Regions from separate parts of the Homo sapiens genome. Here all the other regions are linked to region 5. Evidence: promoter capture Hi-C in 16 types of primary human blood cells and fetal thymus (Javierre and others, 2016). All regions are on one chromosome and are shown on one strand. Each heading gives the region's core, a stretch centred on a gene start or on the middle of the fragment in contact. The rest is flanking DNA. Distances are from core to core; before and after follow the strand shown.

Evidence for each region. Contacts are between HindIII fragments. The CHiCAGO score rates a contact against its expected background, and 5 or more counts as called.
Region 1: a contact is called between a fragment that was not itself captured here and the fragment with the promoter of PCSK7 in region 5, in 11 of 17 cell types (naive B cells, naive CD8 T cells, naive CD4 T cells and 8 more). The highest score is 10.4, in naive B cells.
Region 2: the fragment with the promoter of LNC-RHL1 here is called in contact with the fragment with the promoter of PCSK7 in region 5 in 14 of 17 cell types (naive CD8 T cells, naive B cells, monocytes and 11 more); the score reaches 9.8 in naive CD8 T cells.
Region 3: a fragment that was not itself captured here is called in contact with the fragment with the promoter of PCSK7 in region 5 in 14 of 17 cell types (naive CD8 T cells, naive CD4 T cells, naive B cells and 11 more); the score reaches 11.2 in naive CD8 T cells.
Region 4: a fragment that was not itself captured here is called in contact with the fragment with the promoter of PCSK7 in region 5 in 3 of 17 cell types (total CD8 T cells, naive B cells and total B cells); the score reaches 6.5 in total CD8 T cells.
Region 6: a fragment that was not itself captured here is called in contact with the fragment with the promoter of PCSK7 in region 5 in 5 of 17 cell types (neutrophils, naive B cells, fetal thymus and 2 more); the score reaches 7.1 in neutrophils.
Region 7: a fragment that was not itself captured here is called in contact with the fragment with the promoter of PCSK7 in region 5 in 16 of 17 cell types (total B cells, naive B cells, naive CD4 T cells and 13 more); the score reaches 18.6 in total B cells.

What each region holds. Positions count from the first base shown.
Region 1 is chr11:116,746,829-116,749,528 of GRCh38, reverse strand. It overlaps BUD13 (BUD13 spliceosome associated protein), which reads left to right. Exons shown (of 10, transcript NM_032725.4): 10 at 954-1,356. The coding sequence ends at 1,047. Among named protein-coding and RNA genes, the nearest start is that of BUD13, 25 kb to the left of the region's middle. The HindIII fragment of the contact is 2,921 bases long and covers 1-2,700 here.
Region 2 is chr11:116,812,765-116,815,702 of GRCh38, reverse strand. LNC-RHL1 (lncRNA regulator of hepatic lineages 1) reads left to right here and starts at 1,521. Exons shown (of 2, transcript XR_007062898.1): 1 at 1,521-1,787; 2 at 2,250-2,794. The HindIII fragment of the contact is 5,163 bases long and covers 1-1,816 here.
Region 3 is chr11:116,840,043-116,842,951 of GRCh38, reverse strand. It overlaps APOA1-AS. Among named protein-coding and RNA genes, the nearest start is that of APOA1, 3.9 kb to the right of the region's middle. The HindIII fragment of the contact is 2,377 bases long and covers 471-2,847 here.
Region 4 is chr11:116,907,533-116,910,241 of GRCh38, reverse strand. The region is part of intron 4 of SIK3 (SIK family kinase 3); the gene reads left to right. Among named protein-coding and RNA genes, the nearest start is that of APOA1, 71 kb to the right of the region's middle. The HindIII fragment of the contact is 7,535 bases long and covers 1-2,709 here.
Region 5 is chr11:117,230,638-117,233,337 of GRCh38, reverse strand. It overlaps PCSK7 (proprotein convertase subtilisin/kexin type 7), which reads left to right and starts at 1,265. Exons shown (of 17, transcript NM_004716.4): 1 at 1,265-1,311. It overlaps RNF214 (ring finger protein 214), which reads right to left and starts at 667. Exons shown (of 15, transcript NM_207343.4): 1 at 612-667. RefSeq lists silencers at 528-867, 1,078-1,227 and enhancers at 1,418-1,467, 2,337-2,576. The HindIII fragment of the contact is 17,537 bases long and covers 1-2,700 here.
Region 6 is chr11:116,723,019-116,725,718 of GRCh38, reverse strand. No RefSeq gene overlaps it. Among named protein-coding and RNA genes, the nearest start is that of BUD13, 49 kb to the left of the region's middle. The HindIII fragment of the contact is 6,964 bases long and covers 1-2,700 here.
Region 7 is chr11:116,857,450-116,860,191 of GRCh38, reverse strand. It overlaps SIK3 (SIK family kinase 3), which reads left to right. Exons shown (of 25, transcript NM_001366686.3): 20 at 588-927; 21 at 1,493-2,382. Among named protein-coding and RNA genes, the nearest start is that of APOA1, 21 kb to the right of the region's middle. The HindIII fragment of the contact is 5,146 bases long and covers 1-2,742 here.

The DNA of each region.
Region 1 (2,700 bases), core at 38-2,537, 480 kb after region 5:
GTTCTGAAATGACCTCCAGACCCTTTCTGGCCCTTCCATCCCCAGTGCTGTAGTTAACACAGAGCCTTTACTGATCATTCTTGCCCAACCCTCATGTCACCTTTTTATCATACCTCCCCCAAGCTGATTAAGATACCCATTCTGTTTCCATGACACCCCATGCGTATTTCTACCAGAGTTTATGCTGTTCTTTTAATTTATTTGTTTAAATGTCTCTCTCTTCCACTAGTCTGGGAGTTCATCAGGACAGGTGCTGTGTCATACTCATTTTCATGTAGTGTCTACCATGGTACCTAGTATATAATGAAAATTCAATAAATGTTTGTGTAATGAATGGATAAAATATAAGATGTGGACATCAGCTGAGAGAGAACCAGGCTTTTAGAGTGGCAAACGTTTGAAATAGCTGTCAGAGTGGGGGAAGGGTGTGAACAAGGACTAAGAAAAGGATGAATGATATATTTTGTCCCTTTGATTCTATTGCATATGCCTTAAATATTTTCTTTTCTTTTTTGTTTCTTTCTTTCTTTTTTTTTTTTTTTTTTTTTGAGACAGAGTCTCTGTCACCCAGGCTGGAGTGCAGTGGCACGATCTCCGCTCACTGCAACCTCTGCTGTCCAGGTTCAAGCGATTCTCCTGCGTCAGCCTCCCGAATAGCTGGATTACAGGCACCTGCCACTGCACCTGGCTAATTTTTGTATTGTTAGTAGAGACAGGGTTTCACCATATTAGGCAGGCTGGTCTTGAATGCCTGACCTCGTGATCTACCCGCCTTGGCCTCCCAAAGTGCTGGGATTACAGGCGTGAGCCGCCGTGCCCGGCCATGCCTAAAATATTTTCATATGACTCCTTACTTTCCCCCCTTTTCATTATATTGTGAACTCTTCCCTTTCTTTTGAAACAAATGCCCCTTTCAGGGTTCTAGCTGAATAGTATGTCTCTTTTGATTGCAGATCCAATGGATTTGAACAGAAGCGCTTTGCCAGGCTTGCCAGCAAGAAGGCAGTGGAGGAACTTGCCTACAAATGGAGTGTTGAGGATATGTAACTTTCCTGAGGCTGTGGGGGTGGCTGGGCTGTGGTAGTGGGCATAGGCAGCGAGATATCCAGTGGTAACAGTTGTCTGTGCTAATAATTGGAGCCCACACAGACCAGCAACTTGTTGAATGCCAGTTTTGACCACAGAAGAATATTCGAGACCTGATGTTTGGACTGAGGTACCTGTACTTCTTGGGTGTGACAGCACCGGCTGTTGCTGGCTTTCAGAGGAAGCATTGATTTCTCATTGACCAGGGTTTGTTCTTGGTAGGGTTTTTCTTTTTCTTTTTTAAATAAACATGTATTTATTTTTTTAAAATTATCTTCTTAACTGGGTATTCTGTTTTGGGAAGAATACAGGCTAATATTGAACCTGTGGGGATTTGGGGGGTGGTGGTTGAATTTTTCACTAATCTAGAAAGCAGTGTGAGTAAAAACTTTCTTAGTGATAGATCCTTCCTCTGAGAAAACAGGAATTAGTACTAAACTAGACTCAGGAATAGACACACAGATATTTGGAGACATGGTGTATGATAAAGATAGTGTCACAAGTTAGTAGGGAAGAGATGGATAATAGTGCTCAGAAAATTGGCTTATTATATGGACAAAAATAAAGTTGAACCCTCATACCATATAAAACAAAAATCCCAAAGTGATTAAAGACCTAAATGAAAGATAACGTGATATACAGCTAGTAGGAACAAATGGCAAATGTTTTTGTGCCTTGGGGTAAAGATAAATTTCTTAAATAAGATCCCAAAGCACAATGCATAAGATTTGATAGCTTTGATTACTTTGTAATTAAAGGTTTCTATTTAGCAAAGCATCCCATAGTCAAAGCTAAAGATGGATACGGATTAGGAGAAAATATTTGCAGTGTCTAAAACTGACAAGGATTGCATATACAAGGGATAGAATATAGAAAGAGCTTCTGCAAATCATGAAGAAAAAGACAGATGAAATAAAAATATGCAAAAATATGAATAGGTAAAATCTAAAGAGAAAACCAGAGTGGCTCATAAGTATATTACCTCACTAGTAATTACAGATACGCTAATTAAAACACTGAGTTTCTACCTTACATCTTAGTTTGGCAAAAATAAGCAAGAGACTGATCTGATGGGGAATCAGAACTCATGGAATATTTTCTCTTCTTTTCTTTTCTCTTTTCCTTTCTTTCTTTTTTTTTTTTTTTTTAAAAAGACAGAGTCTTACTCTGTCATCCAGGCTGGAGTGCAGTGGTGCCTCTGCCTCCCAGGTTCAAGCAATCCTCCCACCTCAGCCTCCTGAGTAGCCAGGACTGTAGGCATGCGCTACACAATTTTTGTTTTTTTAGTAGAGATGGGGTTTCACCATGTTGGCCAGGCTGATCTCGTACTCCTGACCTCAGGTGATCCGCCCGCCTTGTCCTCCCAAAGTGCTGGGGTTACAGGCATGAACCACTGTGCCCGGCTACATGGAATATTTCAGCTGGTGTATTCATTTTGGAGAACAAATGAATGAAACTTACTGAAATCAAGTAATACCTAGGGAGCGATATTGCAGTTTTTAATAGTGTGGCTCTGGAGCTATACTGCCTGAATTTGAATCCCAGCTATGTCGTTTGCTAGCTGTGTAACCTTTGGTAAGCCAGTTAACTTCTCTATGCCTTAGTTTTTTCGTC
Region 2 (2,938 bases), core at 272-2,771, 420 kb after region 5:
ATCACATCAAAGACACAATAGATGAGGAAGAGGCACTTCAGAATGGTGAGGTACATTACCTAGCAAGTGGTGGAATGGGATTTTTTTTTTTTTTTTTTTTTTTTTTTTTTTACCAGCGCTTTGGGAGGCCAAGGCGGGTGGATCACTTGAGGTCAGGAGTTCAAGACCAGCCTGGCCAACATGGCGAAACCCCCTCCTCTATTAAAAATACAAAAATTGGCTGGGCTTTGTGGTGCGTGCTTGCAATCTCAGCTACTAGGGAGGCTGAGGCAGGAGAATCGCCTGAACTCGGGAGACGGAGATTTCAGTGAGCCGAGATCATGCCACTGCCAGCCTGGGTGACAGAGTGAGACTCTGTCTCCAAAAAAAAAAAAAAGAAGAGAAAGAAAAAAATATGCCATTTTAGGCCAGGTGTGGTGGCTCACACCTGTAATCCCAGCACTTTGGGAGGCTGAGACAGGTGGATTGCTTGAGCCTAGGAGTTCGAGACCAGCCTGGCAACATGGCGAAAACTTGTCTCTACAAAAAATACAAAAATTAGCCAAGTGTGGTGGTGCACACCTGTGGTCCAAGCTACTCGAGAGACTGAGGTGGGAGGATTGCTTGAGCCCAGGAGGTTGAGGCTGGGGTGAGTTGAGATCATGCCACTGCAGTCCAGCCTGGGCAACAGAGGAAGACCCTGTCTCAAGAAAAAAAAAAAAAAGAAGAAGAAGAAAAGAAAAAAATGCCACCACTTTAGTATTACTTTTATAACATAAAATTTACCATTTAAACTATTTATAGGTGTTCAAGTCAGTGGCATTAATTACATTTACAATGTTGTGCAACCACCGCCACCACTATTTCTGAAAATCTTTTCATCACCCCAAACAGAAAACTCTATCCATTAAGCAATTGTGAAAACTGCCGCTATGAATGGGGGTGTACACATATCTTTCCAGTCCTTGCTCTCAATTCTTCTGAGCAAATATCCAGAAGTGGAATTGCTGGGTCACACGGTAATTCTATATTTAAATTTTGGAGGAACCGCCAAACTGTTTTTTTATAGTAGTGGCACCATTTCACATTCCCACTGGTGACGCCCAGGGTTCCAATTTCTTCACAGCCTCTCCAACGCTTGTTGTTTTCTGTTATTTTTTGGTTTTGTTTTATTTTGTTTTTAACAATAGTCATCCTGAGAGTAGTACTTTTAAAACCAGAAATAAGTAAGAAAAGAAATATTCCCCAGAGCTTCTCCAGGCTACAGTCTATGCCACCAGGAAAGACTGAATCATTGAGACCCATAGGAGAGCGTGTGCTGGGAGGTCCCTGTGGGCACCAGGGAGGTGTGTTTGAACTCCAGCCCAGCCCACATTAGCTTACCCAACAGTCCCTCAGAGCCAGCACAATTTCAGGCCATTATCTCCCTGGTCACCACTGGCTCCTCAGGTGACTTGGAAGTAGATGACTCCTCTGTGGGCCTGGGTTAGTGCCTCAAAGGCATGCTGACCAGCACTGGTTTGGGCCAGGCTGAGATGCTAGCCACACTCCTATGCCCATCCCCAAGTTCAAAGGTCAGAAGTCCTCTGAGAACATCCAGGGTCACTACCCCTGAGGTCTCTGGTGTACTACGTGGCCCTGATTAGGGCAAAGGGAAGTGATCTGAGGGCCACTCTCTTCCTGTACATACAGGGCCTTGCTGCTCTTGAGGGATTGTCCTGGCAGGATCAAAAGCAGCTCCTGCATGGGGACGCCGTGTCCTCCTGCTGTTATCATAGTATGCCCTGTGCTCCCAGGAGGAGGCTGAGGTATGTCCTGGGGACAGAAACAACAAGCTTAGGGTTATTTGGGCACTCCCTTGTCTCCTGTCTGAGAGCGTGCAGGGTGGAGTCATGCTATCTTGCTGTGTGATGACAAGTAGCTGACAATGCAGGGGCACAATAAAAACCCCCGAATGGCCCACATCTGAGGAGCGAGGGTTTGGTGAGCTGCTGGTTCTGAGATAATGGATTGGTGATATGGGAACAAAAGACCTAGGACCTGGAATCATAAGATCACAGGGCATTAGGGTTGGAGGGAACAACCTTGTCTCTCAGCCCTAATTCCTTTGATATCATTTAAGGAATGATCTTAACTCTAGGCTAACAGCCCTCGAGCTCAGGCACACCATTTGTTTGTTCATCATTGTATTTGCAGGATGTGGTAGCTAGCCCTCACAATGGTGGCTGATGTGTGATCAATAGGCTATGTCATGGTATTTCACTTCTAAGTCTAGATCATAAAGGGCATTGTGGCACCTACCTTGATTTCTCTTGGATCACTCATTCTGAGGGAAGATAGCTGCCATGTTGGGAGGACGTGCAAGCAGCCCTGTGAAGAGGTCAACACAGGGGGGAACTGAAGCCCCTTCCAAACAGCTAGCACCAACTTGCCAGCCATGTAAAGTGATTCACCTTGGAAACAGATCCTCCAGCCTCAGCCAAGCCTTCAGATGCAACCTCATGACAGACTCTGAACCAGAAACACACAGCCAAGCTGCTGACCCACAGACTTTGTGAGAGATCATAAACATTTACTGTTGTTCTAAGACACTGTTTTAGGGTGCTTTGTTGTACAACAATAGCTTACTGAAAATACAGAGAGCCTAGCACAGTGCCTGCATGTGGTCATCACTCAATGGTTGAGCGAGTGAATCTTGCTTAGTATTGAACACTCCCACTGACAGCTAACTGTACCATCTCTCAAAACAATTCATTCTATCTTTGGGCAATTCTGTTAAAGATTATTAGAATTAAATTGGATCTTTCTCAATACAGCTTCCACATCTTGGTCTTATTTTTACTGCTCTTTCAAAAATCATTAAACTGGAATCTTTCTTAACATAGCTTCTACACTTTGATCTTACTTTTTTTCTCTTTCGAACCATAGAATAATTATTCCTTTATACATGCATTCTACG
Region 3 (2,909 bases), core at 410-2,909, 390 kb after region 5:
AGGATAGCCAAATAAGTATTTGGAAAGAAAGGGAGGGGCCTGGCATGGCTCACGCCTGTAAATCCAGCACTTCTGGAGGCCGATGGGGGTGGATCATCTGAGGTCAGGAGTTTGAGACCAGCCTGGCCAATGTGGCAAAACCCCGTGTCTACTAAAAATACAAAAATTAGCCAGGTGTGGTGGCAGGTGCCTGTAGTCCCTGCTACTCAGGAGGCTGAGACAGGAGAATGGCTTGAACCCAGGAGGCAGAGGTTACTGCAGCAAGCCAAGATTGCACCACTGCACTCTAGCCTGGGTGACAGCGGGATACTACATCTCAAAAAAAAAAAAAAAGCGGAGCGGGGGTGGAATTTTCCTATAGTTTTCTCCTTTATCCCACACCTGAACTCCAAAGGGCAGGGTAGAGTTTCCAGCAAGTTTCCAGGCATGGCTAAGAGACAGGTGGTTGAAGGTCTTCTATGAAGAAAGCTTACTGAAGCTGGAAAGACCATCTGAGTTCACAGAAGGAAGAATGAGAGGAGGGAATTTAGAAAGCCTTCCAAGCTGGGCATGGTGGCGTGCGCCTGTAATCCCAGCTGCTCAGGAGGCTGAGGCAGGAGAATTAGGTAAACCCAGGAGTTGGAGTCCAACCTGGGCAACATAGCAAGACCCCCACCTCTACAAAAAATAACCAGGCTTGGTGGCACATGCCTGTAGTCCCAGCTGCTCAGGAGGCTGAGGCTGAAGGATCATGTGAGCCTAGGAGTTTGAGGCTGCAGTGAGCTGTGATCGCACCACTGCACTCCTGCAAAGAGAAAAGAAAGATTTCAAGTCCATGAGGGCGGCTAGAAAGTTGCTGTAGGGCCATTTAGATTAGAGAAGAAAAGAGCCTTCTCAAGAAGGGCCTTCTGGCCGGGCGCGGTGGCTCACGCCTGTAATCCCAGCACTTTGGGAGGCCGAGGCGGGTGGATCACGAGGTCAGGAGATCGAGACCATCCCGGCTAAAACGGTGAAACCCCGTCTCTACTAAAAATACAAAAAATTAGCCGGGCGTAGTGGCGGGCGCCTGTAGTCCCAGCTACTTGGGAGGCTGAGGCAGGAGAATGGCGTGAACCCGGGAGGCGGAGCTTGCAGTGAGCCGAGATCCCGCCACTGCACTCCAGCCTGGGCGACAGAGCGAGACTCCGTCTCAAAAAAAAAAAAAAAAAAAAGAAGGGCCTTCTAAAACTCCTCTGAGTCTGTATACGCTGTCATGCAAGACTAGGTGAGTCTCTAGAATCAAACAGTGATAATACCCAGATGCCTTCCAGCAAATTGTAGCACCTGTTGCAATAGGTGCCACTCCCTCCTAAAATCAGCCAGGGTGCCTTTGGACCAGAGGTAGGGTGAGCTTTTGTAGGAAGCAGGGCACTGGCTCCTGGATACAGACTGGAGAGCTTAGCTCCAGAAAACAGGAGCCATGTTGACAGAAAACCGTGCTCTACACAGTTTTCTTTCTGACTTTGTGCCAGCCCCCACCCCACCCCAACTGCAAAGATCAAGAACTCAGAGGGCTACTGTGCTTCCCTCCTGCTGATCAAAGATGAGCTCTGTCCTGGCCTTAGTCTTTTCCAAGCAGGAGGGCAGGAGAGAATCTTGCATAGCTGGCTACGGTGCCCCACCCAAGGGTCTAACTTGGGGCTCTATCACAAAAGCTGCAGCAAAATTGCCAAAAGTAGGAACTACTGGGGGTGGGGGTCCTGTCTCCCCTGCTCAGTCACCACCTCCCCTCCCTAACTCTCATTCTGGCTCATACCACGTGCTCCCAGAAGAAACGTTCTGAGCAGGGGCTGGTATGAGACTGCCTCCCCTCCCAGGACCCACTCCTCCCTATGACCAGGCTGGTGACCCTCCCTCTAGGGTGCCAGTGCCATTCACTGAGCAGATGTTTGGCAGGTGTCTGTTATGTGCCAGACCTAGCAGGGGACAGAGTCCTCCCGATACAGATGGACCAGTATGTTTGGACATAAATTGTGAAAGGAGTTGCTAATCTTTCTGTGCAAAATCCACTCTTGCGGTCACCGCCAACACTCCTACACATGTCAGGGCATCCAGGGCCAGGACTTGGTAACCCTGTTCAGGAGCAGTCGCTCTGGAGACTCCCAAGACGAGGGAAAGAAATGGGTGGAAACAGGGGCCTACACTGTGGGCCCCGCAGCCACCAAACAGTCCAACCCGTGGCCACTGAGTGCCTTGAACAATGCCTGGCTGGACCCTGAGTCTGAGTGTGTCATCAACCCAGTTTGTTATTGTCGTTGTTGTTGTTATGTATTTTTCCATCAGCTCTGTCCAGAAAGACCTCCTTCCTTTCCAAAATATTAGTAAAGGGGGCTTAGACTAGTTTAAGCCAAATACCTTGCAATAAAATGGAGTAGCCACCCTGGTGAATAAGTATATTTAGAAAAGGAAACTGCCTGCTTGGTAAGATGCTGTTCAACAGCACCCCCTATCCTGATGCCTCGCAGTCCCTGAGCCAGGAAACTGAGAAGTCCCTGATCAGACTGCAAAGGCTGCAGGCTCCGCAAGGGTGCAAGGCCACCCTCAAAGAACTAGAAGCCAGGCCTCCCGATTCCCACCCCTGCCAGCGCTAAATAGTAACCGCTGAAGGATGCAGGGCAGCTGTGAGCTGCAGTTTTCCCACAGGCAAAAATCACAAGGGTAAAATCTGGCCTCCAGCCTTATAGGGATATTCTAAGTTGTGAAAGTGCTTTGGCCACAAAGAACTGCGCAAATGTTAAATACTAGGTTTAGCCATAACAATCATTTTAGTAACAAACCAAAGAGAAGGGTGAAACACTGGCAAGTATCTTGGAGTCCAACCAGTAAGCTTCTGAGATTCCCCCATGTGCTGACTGGGACAAACTCTACCCCCCAAAAGAAAAGACGCTCTC
Region 4 (2,709 bases), core at 14-2,513, 320 kb after region 5:
TCTTCGTTAACAGCTCTTGTTAGAACTAAGGAAGCAAGTGATATTATAGACAAAAATGAATTTTTAAATTATATGTAGTGTATACTAGCTTTGTCTCTTACTAATATGGGTTACTGAGAAATAGTTATTAGTGTGGGAGTAATACTAATATTTTCAATCATGTGACTAATAAGCATATCACTCACACCTAATTGCCATTTTAGCATTAATGATTATACCTATCACTAAAATATTTACTCTTCCTTTAAAATTATATTTAATGATAACTGGAAACTTCATCATTGTATATATTCTTCCTAGATTACAGTTTTTCTTCATATATGAAAATTGCTATTTTCAACAAAAACTTTAGTTGAGATCTCTGTCTTACCAAGTAGTTCCCAGTTCCTACACTCTGAGTTCTGATACATTCATTTCCTATTTCAAACTGTATCGCTCTTTTCTTCCCTTTCTCCCACCCTCTCTGTTCTTAGTTAGTCAGTGAGTTGTTTTAAGATATTTATTGAGTGCTTTCTCTTCCTGTCAGCACTGTGCTAGGCCCTAGGAAATCAGTGGTGAGAAAAACCTCTGCCCTCAAAAGCCCTAATGATTGTGGAGCTTAGATCCCAGAGCAGTGGTTCCAAGTGGCGAGAAATAGCAGTGGAGGAGGAAAAGGAGCTATTCTTGTCTCTTTTGTCTTTCATTTATTATGAAATATTATGTTTATACATAAATTTTCTTTAAGCATCTGTGTATACTTTAGTGAATCACTAGAAGCAAATACCTGTGTAGTAATTGGCACTCAGGTCAAAAAACTAGAAAATTTCATCAGCCAGGCTGTACACCTCATCACAACCATATCCTTCCCCCAAGAGAAAAAAAATTTTTTTTGTACTTTTGTGTTAATCACTTATGTGCTCTACTTTATAGGTGTTTTTTTTTTTCTTTTAGTAGTTTTGCCACTGATGTAATGCATTACTTAGGAGTTTTGCTCCAAGGGATGCCATTTATACTGAATATAATGTGTAGTGGGTCCATCCTTAAACAATATAGTTTTGCTTGTTTTGAATGATACATGAATAGAATCATATTGATTATATTATTTTTTGTCTGTTTCATCCAACAGTCTGTGAGATTTATCCATGTTGTTTGTATAGCTGCGATTTATTCATTTTTATTTCTATATAGTATTCCATGATATGAATATACCACAAGTTATTTTTCCATTGTACCTATTAATAGCTATTTTAAAAGCAGAAGCCCCTATTGCTTTCAGTTTGGGGCACTTACTAACAGCTGCAACGAACATTCCTAAACATTTATCCTGGTATACTCTTAAACATTAGTGTGTATTCTTAAACATTTAAGAGTGTAAACTGAGAAGTGAAATTGCTGGGTCATATGGTGTGTGTTTTTAGGTTTTATTTGGTAATGCTGAACTGTTTCCAGTAGGTGTGAGAGTTCCACTTGCTCCATGTCCTCTCCAGTGCTTGTTATTATCTACTCTTAAATTTTTGCCCATCTGGCAACTGTGTAATGATTATCTTGTTGTGGTTTTAATTTTTACTGTTTCTCTTTAATAATGAGATTGAGCTTCTTTTTGTGTCTCTTGGCCTTTTTTTGTCAATTGTCAATAGTCTTTTGCTCATTTTTCTACTGGATTCTCTATTGGTCTTATTGATTTATAGGAGTTTGTTTCTTTTTGATAGTCTGGATACAAGTCCTTTGTTTTTTTTGTTTGTTTGTTTTTTGTTTTTTGATGATTGATTGGTTGGTTGGTTGTTGAGATAGGGTCTCACTCCATCACCCAGGCTGCAGTGCAGTGGCGTGATCACAGCCCACAGCAGTCTCGGCTTCCTAGGCTCAGGCAATCCTCTTGCCTCAGCCTCTCGAGTAGCTGGGACCACAGGCATACACCACCATGCCTGGCTAATTTATATTTAGTTTTTGTGAAGACGAGGTCTCCCTGTATTTGCCCAGGCTGGTCTTAAACTACTGAGCTCAAGCAATCCTCCTGTCTTGGCCTCCCAGAATGCTGGGATTACAGGAGTAAGCCACCACGTCCAGCCGAGTCCTTTATTTTATAAGTTACAAATATCCTCCCTCACTTTGTGGTTTCTCACTTTCTGTTTAACGTGTGTATAAATTTTGGCATAATTCTAATGTAACGAAGTTTACCACTTTTCCCTTTATGATTAGCACTTTTTGTTTCTTGTTTGAGAAATTCTTCCATCCCCTGAGGCCGTAAAGATACCTGCTTTTTTTTTTTTTTTTTAAATAAAAACGTGATAGTTTTACCTTTCACATTAGGGCTATAATCCACCTGGAATTAATTTGGGGATAGAGTGTGAGGATGGCAGCCTCTGTAATTTTTTTCCATATGAATAACGAGTTGTTCCTGTGCCACTTTTTGAGAAATTTATCCTTTTCCCATTGATATACAGTGTCTACCATTCTTTTCTATGCATGTTTTTAAAAGAAACTTGACGCAGTATTCCTGAAGCATTATGTGTCTTTGGGAATTAACATAAGCAGAGCAAAGGGTGGCAGTCAATAATAAAATGAAAAACAGTAAACTGTAATAACTAAGGAATTTGCAAGTTTTTTGTTTTTTTGAGACAGTGTTTTGCTCTTGTCACCCAGGCTAGAGTGCAGGGTGCAATTTCGACTCTGGTGCAACCCTCCGCCTCCTGGGTTCAAGCAATTCTCCTGCCTCAGCCTCCCGAGTAG
Region 5 (2,700 bases), core at 16-2,515:
TTTCCCTCATTATACAAAGCTCCTGGGAGAAAATGGGCCCAAACCGCCATTGCTGCTCCCTCAGGTGCAAACATCCCGTCTCCAACATAGCCCAGGGCTGGGGGGTCCTCTGCGCCCGGTGAACGAAACCCCAGGACAAGGGCCATGCATGCAACTCCGTGGCTAGAGAGCCCGTGGCGCGGGTAGGAACAGCTGGCTGGAGGGTCGAGTGTACCAAAAAGAACTCCGCAACCCGGGGCGACCACCAGCGAAGCAGGGGCGCCGGAGCCACGGGTCCTCGGGCGAGAACAGGGGACAGACGGGAAGGGGACAATGGGGGGAAGCGGCGCTGGGTGGCCTTGGCCACCCCCCACAGGGGACTGCTAGGCTGGCCGCTGGCTCGGACCAGACCCCCCTCCACCCCTTCCCCTCGGTCCCCCCACCCCGCTGCCAGCCACCCCCCCGTCCCACTTCTAGGCCGGGACCCCCGCCTCGGTTCTCACAGCACCCTCCACGCCCCCCACCCGACCCCCATGCCCGGCCCTCGCCCCGCAACCCCCACCCACGCTCGCCCCGCACACACCTCCCGCGCCGCGCCCCCGGGAGGAAAGTGGGGGAGGGACGGGACGCACCTGAGCGGGCGGAGCGGGGGGAGGGGGCGGCCGAGCCACGGGGGGAGGGGTCGAGCGCCGGCCCGCGCGCGGCACCTCCCACTTCCGGCGGCACGAGCGGAGGGGGCGAGGCTCCGGCCGCGAGAGGAGAGGCCGCGGTGGCGCCGCGCCGCCCCCGACGGCGCCCTCTGGCGGCGACAGCTGGCGCCGCCGGGGCACGGGGATGCTGCGGGAGACCCCTGAGATACAAGTGGACTCTCCCGGGGCGCGGGGAAGAAGGGAGAGCCGACTGCGAGAAGGAAGGCGACCTGGGTGGGCAGGATCCCCTCTGGGAAGATTACAGGGACAGTCGGGGCCATGGCGGTCAGAAGGAGAAGAGCAACGAGTGGCTTTTAAAGGTCGGAACCGAAATGCCCTTTACAGAGGACGCCATGAAGGAGAGCCTTCTGAAGAGGGACCATGTGGAAGATGCCCCGAGGACTCGGGGAGGCGGAGCCCGCGGGTTCAGCCCCCAGCGCCCGCACGGCCCCTGCCTGCGTAGGCCGCCCGCGGGAGCCGGACCCCGGGCGCCGGTTGCTGTGGCCCGCGGGGGTCGCCGGGCCGCAGGCGCCGCGCTGATTGGCTGCGCCGCGGGCGGAAGTGATGCTGCTGTCACTGCTCCTCCGGCTCCCGGGAAGCCGCGAGTTTCCGCAGGGAGGCGGCGGCAGCTGCGGCGGGGCCGGTGAGTTGGGAACTAGGTGTGGGGCTGGACCTGGGTGGTCAGGGGGCCCCAGAAGTGGGGGAAGCCGGCGTCTGAGGATGAGGGAGCTGCACAGAGGGTGCCTGAGGTCCTGGCGTGGGGGACCAAGGAGATGGGGCCCCAGGGCCCAGAATTCCTGGATAATGTGGGTGCTAATGAGGAGAGGGGCACATTGCACGGAGCGATCGAGGCCGACGGAGGGAGAATCGGGAAACTGACCCGGTACCCAAGCTGGCTTCTAGGAGCCGGGTGTGGAACAGCGAGGACAGTAGCTTGGGAGCAGGATCTTGGACTCCAGGCTGCCCATTCTCTTCTTCCTTGTCAATTAAGAGCTGTAAAGGGAGGCCTAGCCGTTGGGAGAGGTTGAGACCTGCTTTCAGAAGGCATTTAAGGTTCCTTTCCCAGAAGCCTGGGGGATAAAAATGCTGCTTTGCCACTAGTAGACAGAAGGAGCTCCTGCTTCTCTTTCTTCCTGACATCTGTGGTGGGATCTACTGAGTCTGAAGGAGTCTGCCTAGCGGGGCCACTGTCTGGCTAACAAGGGTTTTGTTTGTTAGTTTGTTTACTTAGTAGAGTATGCAGACTGGGGAAGACACCTAAATATCTTGGGAGAATTGAGGCTCCCGGGGGCAGGGAGGGATTGAGAGGGAATATGCCTGGAAACCTAAGAGAAAACGAGAGGAAGAAATGTAGTATGAAGATTTTTAGAGGTAAAGGAGAGGTGGCATAAGTTCTCCTTTCCAGGAAGCCTTTCAGTAAAATTCCCATTTTTCTGGAATGCTTTGAGGTAGAGCCGCTTGGGTGTGTATCTGAGTACTAAGCCCTGCCCCAGGGTGGACCCAGTGGAGAGCAAAGGCTTTTAAAGGAGCCCAGCCACCATAGGTACACACATGTCCTGCCACCCCATTTGTCTGTCCCCCAGTTCTAACTTGGCTCTTTTTTTTTTTTTTTGAGGGCTCCTGAGACCAATTCCCTGGTTCTGTCAAACCCAGGCAATTGGAGTCCCAGTCTGGAGTCTGAGTCCTCACCTTGAAGCCAGCCTCCTGAGCTCAGTACAGGAGTAGCTGCTTAGTGAGGTTCTCTCATCATTCGTTCTCTCCTGGTTGCCCGCTTGTCCTTGGTGCCTGTTCTGTTTTGTTTGCACTCTCTGGCTTTCCCCGTTTCGCCCCCGCCGCCTCCCTCCTTTCACTTTCCCTGGTATCCTTCTGGGATATACAAATCAAGAAGTTAGCTACCACCTGGACTTCTAGGACGTTATTACCTACTCTTTCAAGAGGCATTTTGGTAACTGTTTTTTGCTAGGCCTCTGGGGAACAAAATGAAAAGAGGGTGGCACGATAGCACAGGAAGTGGGTTTTTTGGGTGTTATAC
Region 6 (2,700 bases), core at 159-2,658, 510 kb after region 5:
GGAAGGGCAGGGAGCTGGACAGGGAGGATGAGGTCCAGCGCCCTGGGTGAGGGCCCTGGTCGGGGAGACGGTGCCCGGTGGCTTGGCCTCCCTAGCAAGGACTCTGCCCCTTGTTCCTCAGCCTGTCAGGGAGAAGAGGAAGGGCTCTCTCTGGTGCTGTGTCGAGCAGCAGCCTCCCACACGGAGTGGGGAGGGGAAAGTTGAAACGCACCTTGACTCCTGACCATCTCCTCCCCACCCTCACCCCCACCCCCACCACGGCAGACATTGTTGGAAGGCATATTAATGGAGGGGTTAGGCAGTTTGGAGACAGACTGCCTAGGTTCATGTCCTTCTCTATCTCATTCTTGGACATATCACTTAGGGTCTCTGAACCCTGATTTCTCCATTTATAAAATGTGGCTAATAATGTTACTTACCTGTCACATGGTAAATGCTCAATTGAAAAGGCTAACATGAGAATGCCATTTTCTGTTATGTACATGATGCTTCATACAATCACACTGGCGCACATATGCGATTATGTGTGGGCTTTCTGTGCGCTCTGCCCTTCCCCAGCTTTGCTGTCTGTCCTTGTTGCTTCCAGAAGGTTGAGAGGGAGGTGAGGGGTCTGCTCCTGACAATGCTGACTACTGAGGGGCTGAGTGCTGCCCAGGAAAGTAGGTAGCAGAGGAGAGAGGACTTGGCCTAAGCGAGGGAGCCAGGGCCTTACAGAGGAAAGGAAAAGGGGGCAGGGGGAAGGAGGACAGGGAGGGTGGCTGGGTATGGCAGGAGTCAGGGCATCTCAGAGGCATGAAGGAGCTGGGGGTGCTGCCTTCCTACTCGGGCTCACCCGTCCAGCCCCCACACTGCCCTCCACACCAGACACCCAGCAGTGCTGCTAAGGCCACTGGCCAGGGGGTGTGGGCCACCTGCACCTACTGCTTGCCTTTGGGGGAGATTTTTTTTGGGGGGATTCTTGGCTCTCTTGGGTTATGCTCCTCCTTCTGGTGTACCCTAGGCAGGGAAGAGTTTGGGGAGAATGGGAGGCTGCTGTGAGGGTTATAGGTGGGTTACTTCACGGACTCCGTGAGTCTGGGGCTCCTTCTGTGAAGTCTCAGTGACAGGACACGAACCCAAGAACTGTTGGCATGTGGCATCCTTGCCTCAGGAGCTCTTCAGCAAGTGCTGGAGTTCACATGGCCAGCCTGAGGGAGGGGTCTTCTGTGTTCTCTCTGCACCCCTTCCCCTCCCTGCAGCCCAGTGTCCTCAGGGCAGGGGTGGGTGGCAGTGGGGAGGAGGGAGGGGAGATGGTCTGTGATCTCTGGTTGCAGTGAATTTGGGACTAAACATCATTAATGCTGACAGATGCCAGCCATACTAACTTGTAGAATAACAGGACAATCTAGGGGAAAAAAAAATCACTAAAAATATTGACTAAAGGCTTCAGATTTGTGCCTCCTCCCTGCACACCCCAATATGAGATAAATCTCTCTGCATTTATGGACTCCAAGTGTGTCTCAGCATCCCTGAAGTGCCTGCGGGGCGGGTGGCTTGCTCTCCTTGGGTCTGGTTCCCTCTCCTCAATATCCCTGTGAAGTGGGGGCAGGTGGAGGAACATGGAGAAAGAAAGGACAATGGTGTGTGCAGGGCCCTATTGTGGGGAGGGGGCCGGGGTCACCCGCACCACCCCAGGGATGGTGAAAAGAAAGGGTTGGGTTTATGAGCTTCTCTTCTCTCTTTTTCTTTTCAATTACAATGATACCTCAGGTAATTAACTGCTAATAACCTTGTTAATTTAAAATGGATGCTCTCCCTTCTGGCTCTCTCAAGGAAGGCTAAAGCCACCAGGGGTCAGCAGGTTTGGGGGAGCAGGAGAGGGTGGGCAGGAGAGGAGAGGATGCTGGGTGGGAGGCCCTTGTGGTGGGCAGGCAGGGCTGTGGCTGGCTGTGTGGCATGCTCTAAGGGGCCCGGCTGCTGTGGAAGTCCAGAGGTACTGGGATCCCTTCAGCCCCTCCATATTCCTGCACAACAACTGGATGGGTCACCTGGGCCCCCGACCTGGGGAAGAGAGCCTGTGGCTCTCTCCAGCACCGCAAGCCTTTGCCATGGAGCAGCAGCAGCTGCTCAGCCCGAGGCACCTCCCTGTTAGGAACTACCCGGGGCCTTTGGGCTCACGATCCTAGAAACTCACCCTGCTGAGGGTCACGTCTCCCATCCCCACTGCTTCTCAATCGCAGGGATTGGAGATACAGTCAGGAAGGGAATAAATGTCTCATTCTGAACAGTTTAGACATTTGTCAAGAGTCAGGCATCTAGACGAGGTATCTGTGATCTTTTTAGTTCAAATATGTATTCGTTAGACAGACTTTTAAAGTCTAGCCCAGGTCTTAGTGATACAAAGCTGAAGAAAGATAATGGTTCCTGCCTTCAAGGAGCTCATTGTCTCAGTGAAGTAAACAAATAATTACAACACAAACTGTGCAGAGCGTAGGGGAAAAAAAATACCTAATCTTGTAGGGTGTGGGCAGTCAGGGCAGGTTTTCCAGAGGAGGGGTATTTAAACTGGGCACTGATGAAACAGGAGGAGCTCCCTAGGCTGCTAAGATGGAGTGTAGGAAGGCCTGAAGGCAGGAGGGATGGCAGGAAGCATGAGAGGCTGTGGCTGCTGGGGAATGGGCAGTGCCTTGATAGGGATGAAACACAGGGAGAATGAGGAGG
Region 7 (2,742 bases), core at 102-2,601, 370 kb after region 5:
GCTCACTGCAACCTCCACCTCCGGGTTCAAATGATTCTCCTGCCTCAGCCTCCCAAGTAGCTGGGATTACAGGCGCCCGCCACCACACCCAGCTAATTTTTGTATTTTTAGTAGAGACAGGGTTTCGCCATGGTGGCCAGGCTGGTCTCGAACTCCTGACCTCATGATCCGCCCACCTCGGCCTCCCAAGTGCTGGGATTACAGGTGTGAGCCACCACGCCCGGCCTAGAGTCTGCATTTTTAACCAGATGCCAGGCCATTTGTGTGCATGTGAAAGTTCAAGAAGCACTGCCTAGATCCGAGTTACCCCATGTAATCCATGGACCAGCTTTTAAGGGAACTTGTTGGAAACACAAATTCTTAGGGGCCCATCCTGACCTACTGAATCAGAGTTTGAAACAGAATTATATAGATAGGACCCAGGAATCTTCTGTTTAACAAGTTCTCCAGACTTGTCCTATGCTCAGTGCAGTTTGAGAAGCACTGTTCTAGCTGGTATGTCGTCTGAGTATTCTCATTAGCTCTCATTACTTCTGGCTGGCTGGTGGCCTGGGCACTTGGTCACTCTGAGGTTCCTTTCTCTCCAGGGGCTGCATCTTCTTCCCAGTTTCAAGGCTTACCTTCCCGCAGTGCAATCTTTCAGCAGCAACCTGAGAACTGTTCCTCTCCTCCCAACGTGGCACTAACCTGCTTGGGTATGCAGCAGCCTGCTCAGTCACAGCAGGTCACCATCCAAGTCCAAGAGCCTGTTGACATGCTCAGCAACATGCCAGGCACAGCTGCAGGCTCCAGTGGGCGCGGCATCTCCATCAGCCCCAGTGCTGGTCAGATGCAGATGCAGCACCGTACCAACCTGATGGCCACCCTCAGCTATGGGCACCGTCCCTTGTCCAAGCAGCTGAGTGCTGACAGTGCAGAGGCTCACAGGTAAGACCGCCTAACGTCACCCAGCCATCTATGCATGGGATCCAGGTGGGAGGAAGCCCCTTAGCAGAGTGAGAGAAAAGGAGGGAAGGAGAATGGGTCTGACTAGGCTGTGCTCTTGTTTCACGCTTTCTAAAATCAGGATGCTGGGTTTGGAATGAACTTGTCAGCTTTTTATTGACCCAGGGTTAAAATTCTAATGAGACTGAGGTGGAAAATGGGAAAGCTACCTTATTATTTGCTACCTTATTATTTGCTTGCAAAGAAGAAAATGGCCTGTTAGAGGAATGTATAAAAATTCCAGTTCCCCTTTTCTTGAAGGGAGCATCTTGAAGTTGCTTCCTTCAAAATGAGCTAGATCTATTACCCACGCAGTGCCCTCAGTCCCTTGGAGGTTACTGGACAAGCCAGTAATGGAATAAATAGGGACAATGCATACATCTGCCACTTCTCTGTCACACCACAGTTCTCTGTACCAGTGGGTTCTCCCTACTGAGGAGGAGGAGCTGTTCCCAGGAAGTCTAGTACTTGTTACATGGATGTCTGGTACTCCCTTTTGTGTCTGCAGCTTGAACGTGAATCGGTTCTCCCCTGCTAACTACGACCAGGCGCATTTACACCCCCATCTGTTTTCGGACCAGTCCCGGGGTTCCCCCAGCAGCTACAGCCCTTCAACAGGAGTGGGGTTCTCTCCAACCCAAGCCCTGAAAGTCCCTCCACTTGACCAATTCCCCACCTTCCCTCCCAGTGCACATCAGCAGCCGCCACACTATACCACGTCGGCACTACAGCAGGCCCTGCTGTCTCCCACGCCGCCAGACTATACAAGACACCAGCAGGTACCCCACATCCTTCAAGGACTGCTTTCTCCCCGGCATTCGCTCACCGGCCACTCGGACATCCGGCTGCCCCCAACAGAGTTTGCACAGCTCATTAAAAGGCAGCAGCAACAACGGCAGCAGCAGCAGCAACAGCAGCAACAGCAAGAATACCAGGAACTGTTCAGGCACATGAACCAAGGGGATGCGGGGAGTCTGGCTCCCAGCCTTGGGGGACAGAGCATGACAGAGCGCCAGGCTTTATCTTATCAAAATGCTGACTCTTATCACCATCACACCAGCCCCCAGCATCTGCTACAAATCAGGGCACAAGAATGTGTCTCACAGGCTTCCTCACCCACCCCGCCCCACGGGTATGCTCACCAGCCGGCACTGATGCATTCAGAGAGCATGGAGGAGGACTGCTCGTGTGAGGGGGCCAAGGATGGCTTCCAAGACAGTAAGAGTTCAAGTACATTGACCAAAGGTTGCCATGACAGCCCTCTGCTCTTGAGTACCGGTGGACCTGGGGACCCTGAATCTTTGCTAGGAACTGTGAGTCATGCCCAAGAATTGGGGATACATCCCTATGGTCATCAGCCAACTGCTGCATTCAGTAAAAATAAGGTGCCCAGCAGAGGTAAGTGTCTCCTCACAGTGGAAGTCCTGGGCCAGTCTGCCCTAATCAACTGACTCAGTAATGTTATCTTTTTTCAGCTAGTATTCTGTGTTCCTAAGAAAAAAAGAATTTCTGAGCTTCACGACCTTCTTGGGGAGAAGCATGTAGGAAGTGGGTATTGGTGGGCAAGGGGTCCATTTTCAAAATCAAAGGACCATGATACAAAATTAACACTTAGTCAATAAGATAGATGATCCATTTCCCTTATTCATACCACAGTTTCTTGGAATCCAGAAATTCCTGACTGCCATCCAAACAGCTAACTTTAAACTTGTGCAATAGAAAAAAAGTCAGCCCAACATAATTTAGTGTAAATAGTGT